Regions from separate parts of the Homo sapiens genome. Here region 2 is linked to region 1. The links are contacts of gene promoters, found by promoter capture Hi-C in blood cells and fetal thymus (Javierre and others, 2016). All regions are on one chromosome and are shown on one strand. The core of a region is centred on a gene start or on the middle of the fragment in contact, and the rest is flanking DNA. Distances in the headings are between cores, read along the strand shown.

Region 1 (4,744 bases), core at 772-3,271:
TGTGATCATTGATATGGTATTAGCATATTGCTTAGCACATAGTAGCTGTCTGAATTAATTCTACCTCTTGTTATAACACAATCCATTATTTCTGCTGTTTGCAAATATGTTATTCATTTCCTACAATACAGTTTGCAATATTGTATTAGTTCTCTATGGCTGCTGTAACAAATTACCACAAATTTAGTGGCTTAATACCACACAAGTTTGTTCTCTTACAGTTCTGAGCTCAGAGGTTCAAAATCAGTCTCTCTGGGCTGAAGTCAAGGTGTTATCAGGGCTGATTTCTGGAGGCTCTAGAAAAAAAAAATGTTTCCTTGCCTTTGGTAGTTTCTAGAGACCACCAGACTCCTTGGCCCGTGGTCCCTTCCACTGTCTTCAACGCCATCTGTGTAGTGTCCCCACATTCTGTCACTGACTGTTTCTATCATCACATTGCCCCTCGAACTCCTGTCTCCCTCTTATAAAGGCCCTTCTGATGACCTTGGGCCCACCTGGATAATCCCGGGTAAGGGGTAATCTCCTCTTCTAAAGATTCTTATTTAATCTATTTTGCAAAGTTACTTTTGCTATGAAAGTTACTGTATTCATAGGTTCCAGGAATTAGGATTTTGGCCTCTTTTGGAGGGAGGAGTGCAGGGTATTATTCAGCCTACCCCAGGCAGGTACATCAGAGATCACAGTGAAGGAGACAGGAATATTGGCTGATTTAAGACCAATCATGTGTTAAATTCTAGAGTCTTTTATTTTCTTTCTTAATCTCATCACTAACAAACACGTGAATTTCTAAACAAATGAATAAACAAGTAATTGTCTGATGGATGTGAGAAATGTCCTCCTTCCCCATATCCCCCTCTTTTAACAACTTGACTCTCTAATTTTTCACAAGACAAAGTATCATTCACTACTCTCTCTGTTCTGTGTTCCCTGTGGAGCAGTGCCTGGACCTTGGCTCTTTCCTTTCCTTGTAGACAAAGCAGCCTGTGGCTTCTTATCATGCTGATTACCCAAATTCACTGCTGTCTTTCCTCCACACCCTCTTCTATTTCCAATATATGAATGCATATTTATAGCATTAATGAAATCAAGCATACGAGGGCACTGAAAGGAAAGGAGATGAGTATCGAAACCCACACTGCAAGTATCAACAGGCAAAAATTAAGAGAACATTTCATCAATTTGAGGCACAAATAAATGTGACCATTCTGCATTTTCAATTTATTTTTTAATGTTGATTCTTGGCCCATGAAAGTACCAATTACAGTTTATACAGAACAGTAATCATCAGCTTCTCATAACAGAAACTCAAAGTTCATGTATTGTTACATACTTTCTTTTTTCTTTTTGCATACAAGTAGAAGCAGCAAGATCTCCAATTTCATTGTGGGGTTTCAGATTCCACAGTGTCTTTTACATTTTATCAATTTCTAAATTCTAACTCTTCTTGATTTTATCTTGTTTAGATGTTACAAATTTTTCTGCCTCAATTTACTCTATATTTATGCCCAAATTCCAAAGCCCATTTTTATTGCCTTTGTCTCTCTCTTTTAAGGTTTTTTTTAGTTTCATTTTATTTTTAATTGACGCATAATAATTGTATATATTTTTGGGGTACAATGTGACGTTTCAATACATGTATACATTGTGTGATGATCAAATCAGGATAATTAGCCCATCTATTACCTCAAAACTTTACTATTTCTTTGTGATGAGAATATTCAAAATTCTCTCTTCTAGCTATTTTGAAATATGCATTATTGTTAACTATACACACCCTACTGCAGAATAGAATACCAGAACTGGTTCTTCCTAGCTATTGTAACTTCATACCTTTTAACTAACGTCTCGCCATGCTCCCCTTCTTAAGATTCTGATTGAAGGGAAGGATGCTAAACTTTCCACGAAAGTGCCTCGCCTAATTCGTGCTGAAGGGAAACTGAAACCTAAGTGCTTCTGAGAGGAGAAAGGAAACCGAAACTCCCGCCGGATGCATAAAAGACTGGCTGCGGTGGCTCAGAGCGCCGAGTCCTAGGCCAGGTCTGGGGTAACCTGGAACTTCCACCTGGGCTCTGCGCTAGGTCTCTGTTTCACTCCCTCCCCGCGGGGCGCGCAGCTCGCGGGTCTTTGGACACCACCGGTCCTGAGTCCGCGGTGAGGAGCCGGGGATGTCCCTTGGGAAGAGCCTGGGGCGGAGCTGTCTAGCGGGAGTTCTAGGTCTTCTTCAACGGACCGGACAGGGAGGTGGCCCAGGAGTGCTGGGCTCGGGGCGCGGGAATCTGGGGAACCTCCTGGGATCGCAAGGCCGTGGCGCACGGGCCCCCTGCTGGCCCGGAAGGCCGGGCGTGGGGAGGGGCGGAGGAAAGGGACAACCGCGAAAGGCCTGAAGTCTGAGACAGAGAGGAGTGCTTAGTTAGGCATTTAAGGAGTCCCCGTCAAAGGTGGGAGCTGGGTAATGGAGGTTGAGGAGAAATTAAGGGACATCATATCTAAGCACAGCCAGTAAAACCTGTACATTGACAGCAGCAAGAAGCTTCCACCTTCAATCCCTGCTCCAGACTTGTAGAATCAGAATCTGCGTTTATTAATAAGATTCCCCCAGGTAATTTCTGTGCACCCTTAAATTTCAGTGGCTTAAGACAATAGAAATTTATTTCCTACTCCAGTAACTTAATTTATTCCTGGTCAAGGGGCAGGTATAGTGGCTTAAAACATTACAAGTTTATTATTTTACAATTGCTGTGGATCAGAAGCCCAGGCATGGGTAAAGTGAGTTCTCTGTTCAGCATCTCATCGAGCTGAAATCAAGGTGTCAGAGCTGTGGCCTCATGGGACACCATGGATGCTCATTCAGGTTGTTGGAAGAATTCAGTTTCTTGCAGCTAAAGGACTGAGGTTACCTGCTTTCTTGCTGGCTGTTGGCTGGGGGTTCCCATGTCTTTAGATTTCACCCTGAGATCTTAGCTACAGTGGCCTTCTCACAACAAGGTGGCTTATACCGTTAAAGAAGGTATAGGGTACCTTTAAAGAAGGTATAAGCCTCTTTGGGGGAATCTCCCGAGTCTACTATGATGAAGTCTTACATAATATAACCGAATCATTAAAGAGACTATGCCATTAAATTCACAGGTCCTGTCCACACTCAAGGGGAGAGGGTTATACCGGGTACTGGAAGCCATTTTAACCCACCAGCTCTTCTCCAGGCAGGGTTTCAGGAGCTTGATGCCTTTCATCAAGTAGCTCCACCATTCTGTTCCAATACAGAATCCATGATTTCCTTTCCCTTCCCTTGCCCCCATTTTTTTCCTCTTTACCTCCCCTTTGCGCCTTTCCTCTTCCCTCCTTTTTTCTCTTTTCCATTTCTCTTCCTCCCTTCTTCTTTTCTTCTTCCTTTTTAAGATTGTTTGAATCAGAATATGGTTCTGACACTACTGTGATTGGAGGATAAGCCTTATAAGGTTCTTGCAATTTCTTTCATCCCCTTTTAATTTATTCGTTTGTAAGATTTGTGGTCTTATGATTGTTTGTTTTTGTATGTGTGTGTCCTGTTGGGTGTGTGTTTATGTGTGTGTGTGTGTATGTGTCCTAATCCCTGTGGTGTCATTTAACATATTTTGCTGGCCTCTAAATTTCTTGTAAATTAATCATTACTACTAGCGTTTTGATCAGATTCAGGTTTTCTTTTTTTTCTTCTTCTTCTTTTTTTTTTTTTTTTTTTGAGACGGAGTCTTGCTCTTTTGCCCAGGCTGGAATGCAGTGGCTTGATCTCAGTTCACTGCAACCTCTGCCTCCCAGGTTCAAGCGATTCTTCTACCTCAGCCTCCCAAGTAGCTGGGATTACAGGTGACTGTCACCATGCCCAGCTAATGTTTGCATTTTTAGTAGAGATGGGGTTTCACCATGTTGGCCAGTCTGGTCTCGAACTCCCGACCTCAGGTGATCTGCCCGCCTTGGCCTCCCAAGTTTTGGGTTTCTTTTTTTTTTGGCTGGGAGAACTACAATACTTCACTGATGGTGTGGACACTTGCCTCTATTTTTGTTGTGCTATCGTTTAAAAATACCAAGATCTGTTAATTCATTAGGAGTTGTAAAATGGTGATATTCTAATTCTATCATTCCTTCTGTGTTTATTAGCTGCATTATTTCTAGAAATGAATCACTCTTGTATCTACTCTTTGGTAATGCGATGGTGCAGTACTTAGAAGAAAAGCAGGATAATTTCTTGATTCCATAAACCATTATTTTTTTTCATATATTGTCTTCAGATGCTATTGCTGGACATCCTGCTGTGAAAGATGAAGAATTTAGCATTCATATTTATTTTTCTTTCATTCATCCCTTTGTGAACTGCCAAGTTGGTTAATTATATTATTATTTTCATACTGTCAAGGTTTATCATATTTTACAGCAGTTTGTGACTTTGATTCTTGTGATTTGTTTGTATGTTGAGTCAACAGTAAAAAAGAAGTAAACAGCAGTGACAAAATTATGAGTATGTACACATTACTCAGTGTAGAAGCAATCTAGGAATTGCTAGGCTAAGACATGTAGTTCTATGTTGTTAAAATTACTGTTTGAAATAGACTTTTGTAAATTCGAAGTACCATGGGTTCTCTTGTTTTTCTTTATAGCTTCCTTTAACTTTTCTAAATCACACAAAGTTTCATGGTTTTTTGATTGTCTTCATTCTTGATGGGTTTTCCCCAATTTTCTGTATTATCTCTTTAAATAAAATTATCATTTAAGA
Region 2 (4,383 bases), core at 1,058-3,557, 3.2 Mb after region 1:
CAACATAGCGAGACCCTGTTGATTTTTATTTTAAAATTTAAAAAATATTAAAAAGAGAAAAGAGTTAATAAAGAAATAATAGTGGCTAATACTTATTGAGTGCTCTCTGTGCGTCAGGCAGTGTCATGAGGACTTGCATGTGTAGTGACTCATTTAGTATTCCTGACAGAGCTACGAAGCAGGTGCTATTATTAGTCTCCTTTTTAGATGTGGAAACTGAGGCATGAGAGATGAAGTAACTTGCTCTCAGCTAGAAAGCGGTAAAACTTGTGCTTGAATCCAGGCAGTTTGCCCTTAGGAGCCTGACCTTAACCACAGCTCTTACTGCCTTTGGTCACAGTTGATCCCCCGTATGTCCTGATAATCTCTTCTAATTAGCCCAGGTCTTTGATGATGCCCATAATTGAATTAGAAAATACTGCAGAAACAGGTTTGGGGCACTCATTCATTCATCTAGCAAATGTTTGCTGAGTGACAACCATGAGATAGTGTTGAGTGCTGGGATTACAAAGACAAGAGGTGTAAAGGTAATGGGTCCAATGACGTCTAGTGGAGAAGAGATAAGTAAGAGACCATCACAGGATAGTTTGATAGAAGAGGCAAGCACAGAATGCTTTGAAAAACATGGAGGGTGGCACAATCCAGATTAGGGGTATCCAGAAAGGCCCTGTGGTGGGAATTGCCCCTTCTGAGCATGAAAGAATGCACAGACATTAGCTAAGGGAAGAGCAGATCTCAAGGCTCCAACATCTGCTGACTGAGAATGAGCTAGAGGCAGAGGGGTCTTGAAGAGAACAGGAGTAATCTGAATTGTACCATGAGTTATGGTAAACTAAACAGGAAGCAATCTAGGCATTGAATAAAAGACTTGGCCAGGCGCGGTGGCTCATGCCTGTAATCCCAGCACTTTGGGAGGCTGAGGCAGGCGGATCACCTGGGGTTGGGAGTTTGAGACCAGTTTGGCTAACATGGCGAAACCCCATCTCTACTAAAAATACAAAAATTAGCCGGGCATAGTGGCGCGTGCCTTTAATCCTAGCTACTCAGGAGGCTGAGACAGGAGAATCGATTGAACCCAGGGGGCAGAAGTTGCAATGAGCCGAGATTGAGCCACTGCACTCCAGCCTCGGCGACAGAGCGAGATTCCATCTCAAAAACAAACAAACAAACAAAACAACAAAAACAGTTGCAGAGCAGTGTTGAATACCTGCTACTGGAAATTGAGGAGCCCACTCCAGAGCTAGGTTACACCCTAGATTACTGTCCTTATCTTTGTAATCTTAGCAATCAACAGCCATCTCTTACATCATTTGTCCTACTACCTACTTCCAAAATAAAGAGCTCTCATTCTGTGTAGCCAAAACCTATTCATGAATCCTTCATTTCTGTCTCATTGTAGTGCAGTTAGCTGACCTAAATTTTTTGGCATTGTCTTCTATGCTTTTCATTTGCTGATTTGTTATGTGCTTCCCATGAACCATATTCTTTTTTTCTTTTTTTTAACATGTGATGAGAACACTTAAGATCTACACTCTTAGCAAATTAAAAGTATATACAATGCAGTATATATCCATATTTTTGAGACGAAGTCTCTCTGTCGCCCAGGCTGGAGTGCAGTGGCGCAATCTCGGCTCACTGCAACCTCCACCTCCTGGGTCCAAGTGATTCTCCTGCCTCAGCCTCCCGAGTAGCTGGAATTGCAGCTTGCGGCCAAGAGTTCAAGACTAGCCTGGGGCCGGGCACTGTGGCTAATGCCTGTAATCCCACCACTTTGGGAGGCCGAGGTGGGTAGATCACCTGAGGTCAGGAGTTTGAGACCAGCATGGCCAACACAGTGAAACCCTCCCTCTACTGAAAATACAAAAATTAGCTGGATGTGTGCCGGGCACGGTGGCTCATGCCTGTAATCCCAGCACTTTGGGAGGCCGAGGCAGGCGGATCACCTGAGGTCAGGAGTTCGCGACCAGCCTGACCAACATAGAGAAACCCCATCTCTACTAAAAATTAAAAATAAAAAATTAGCCGGGTGTGGTGGTGCATGCCTGTAATCCCAGCTACCCCAGGAGGCTGAGGCAGGAGAATTGCTGGAACCCGGGAGGTGGAGGTTTCGGCGAGCCAAGGTTGTGCCAGTGCACTCCAGCCTGGGCAACAAGAGTGAAACTCTATCTCAAAAAAAAAAAAAAAAAAAATTAGCTGGGTGTGGTGGTGCACACCTGTAGTCCCAGCTACTCAGGAGGCTGAGGCAGGAGAATTGCTCGAACCTGGGAGGCAGAGGTTGCAGTGAGCCAAGATTGCGCCGCTGCACTCCAGCCTGGGCAACAGAGCGAGACTGTCTCAAAAACAAAAAACAAAACACAAACAAACAAGACCAGCCTGGGCAACATAGTGAGACCGTGTTGCTACAGTTTTTAAAAAATTAATTAATTTTTTAATTAATTAAATTAAATTAATAATTAATTTTTAAAAAATTGGATTCAGGTAGGCAATGTGTTCTCTTGCCTTTAATTTGTATGTGGTTAAAAAGCTCTGTAGTTTAGTAGATTTGTCTTAGAAACATAATCTAGAAAGTGGTGATTATAGGTTGCTTGTTTTTCTGCACCCCAGGGTTCCTTGGATATCACCCAGAGTATTGAAGACGACCCACTTCTGGATGCCCAGCTTCTCCCACACCACTCATTACAAGCTCACTTTAGACCCCGATTCCATCCTCTTCCTACAGTCATCATAGTGAATCTTCTGTGGTTTATTCATGTAAGTTGGCTGCAAGAAGGGGACCTATCCAGAGGTGATGTTTGTAAAAATTATATAAGTGTTTCAGAGGGCAGTTGTGCTGTATCTATCAACATTTAAAATGTAGGGCACATGTTCTTAGGACATCCTGAGTGCTGTGTCATGGGCAAAAAAAAAAAAAAAAAAGTACGTACACTTTTACTTATATCTTCAAATAATTCATTGTGGATATATTTGCACACATGTAAAGATATTGTTGATAATAGCCATGTTGTCTGTCATATCAAGAGACTACAAACTACCTGGCTACTTGGCATCCAGAAGACACTGTGTGTCCCATTCATATAAGGAAATGCTATGCAACTGTTAAGAATGGGGTGGATAGGTATACAGTATATTAACATAGAATAGCCTTCATGATTACATTGTCGAGTGAAAAAAAATCAAGTTTTCAACCTTGTGTACAGAATGTTCCTATCTGCAGTTTTTAAAAGGGAGTTGAGAGGGCTGTTGTGGACCTGTTTTCCTGTATATAATAGAATATTTCTAGAAGCATTCACAGACCTAGTTGCCTCTGAAATGAGGACTGAGGGTCTTGGTGGAAGAGACACTAATATAATTTACTGTTTACTTTTGAATACTACTTGATTTTTTAACCATGTGCTTGTATTACTTTTTCAGTTACAAAAAAGATGCAGAAAAGTCTACATATGTTGACACAGGAATTTATCAATTTACTTATACCTAGGGAATAATGTTTAGCAGACAAATCAAGTTGCAGTGGAATAATATGTACAATTTTTGTATGATGACAAAATTACAACTATCTGGAGTTTATAAAAACACATGTGCAAAAGGTCTTATCGCAGGCCTCACTGGTGGTGACTCCACTGCCAGTCTGTTTAATCAGTTCCTCCCTTTCGACGATTGCAGTTGGAAGCACTAGGGGTTATAGTTGTTCTCTGCTGCAATGTGAAAAATCAAGAGGGCTCATTCTCACCACTCCTTGAGTATTTACGAGGACTGTGAATGGAGTTGATTGACTTGCTCAGCCTCTGCTCAGCCTCCTACTGATAGGTTTGCCTGTCTGCAGGGACCGTATCCCTCAGCACATTTCCTGGCTTCCCCTGCAGCTGGGATTCCTCTCCAGTGAAGTGCACTGTGGGAGACTTGAGTTCAGAACTGAATCACTGGGGAGAGAGGTGGTATCCCCTTTCCTTGAGGGAACTAGTAGCTGTGGTATGGCTCCACCATGGCTTCCTGATCCCCAGATCCCAGCTGAAGCGCTTTCTTCTTGGTACCACCATGTGCAGGGGTGGCCTTGTGGTTTCCAGATGGTGACCTCTTTTTCTTCTTTCCTTTTACTTTTTGTGTAACATACTCTGTACCAGCCTGGGTGCCATAGCAAGAACCTGTCTCTATAAAAACTTCTTAAAATTGGCCAGGCATGGTGGCACAGGCCTGTAGTTCCAGCTACTCCAGAGACTGAGGTAGGAGGATCGCTTGAGCCCAGGAGGTTGAGGCTGCAGTGAGCAGAGATGGCACCACTGCACTCCAGCCTGGGCAACAGGGCAAGACCGTATCTCACACAGAAAACAAAAATACATTTAAACAAAACAAAACGAAAATACATTTAAAAACTCATTTATAAAA

The links. Contacts are between HindIII fragments. The CHiCAGO score rates a contact against its expected background, and 5 or more counts as called.
Region 2: a fragment that was not itself captured here is called in contact with the fragment with the promoter of DDX60 in region 1 in 1 of 17 cell types (naive CD8 T cells); the score reaches 6.6 in naive CD8 T cells.

What each region holds. Positions count from the first base shown.
Region 1 is chr4:168,316,029-168,320,772 of GRCh38, reverse strand. It overlaps DDX60 (DExD/H-box helicase 60), which reads left to right and starts at 2,021. Exons shown (of 38, transcript NM_017631.6): 1 at 2,021-2,151. RefSeq lists an enhancer at 1,758-2,087. The HindIII fragment of the contact is 2,588 bases long and covers 1-2,532 here.
Region 2 is chr4:165,101,318-165,105,700 of GRCh38, reverse strand. It overlaps TMEM192 (transmembrane protein 192), which reads left to right. Exons shown (of 6, transcript NM_001100389.2): 2 at 2,605-2,751. Among named protein-coding and RNA genes, the nearest start is that of TMEM192, 9.4 kb to the left of the region's middle. The HindIII fragment of the contact is 5,860 bases long and covers 1-4,383 here.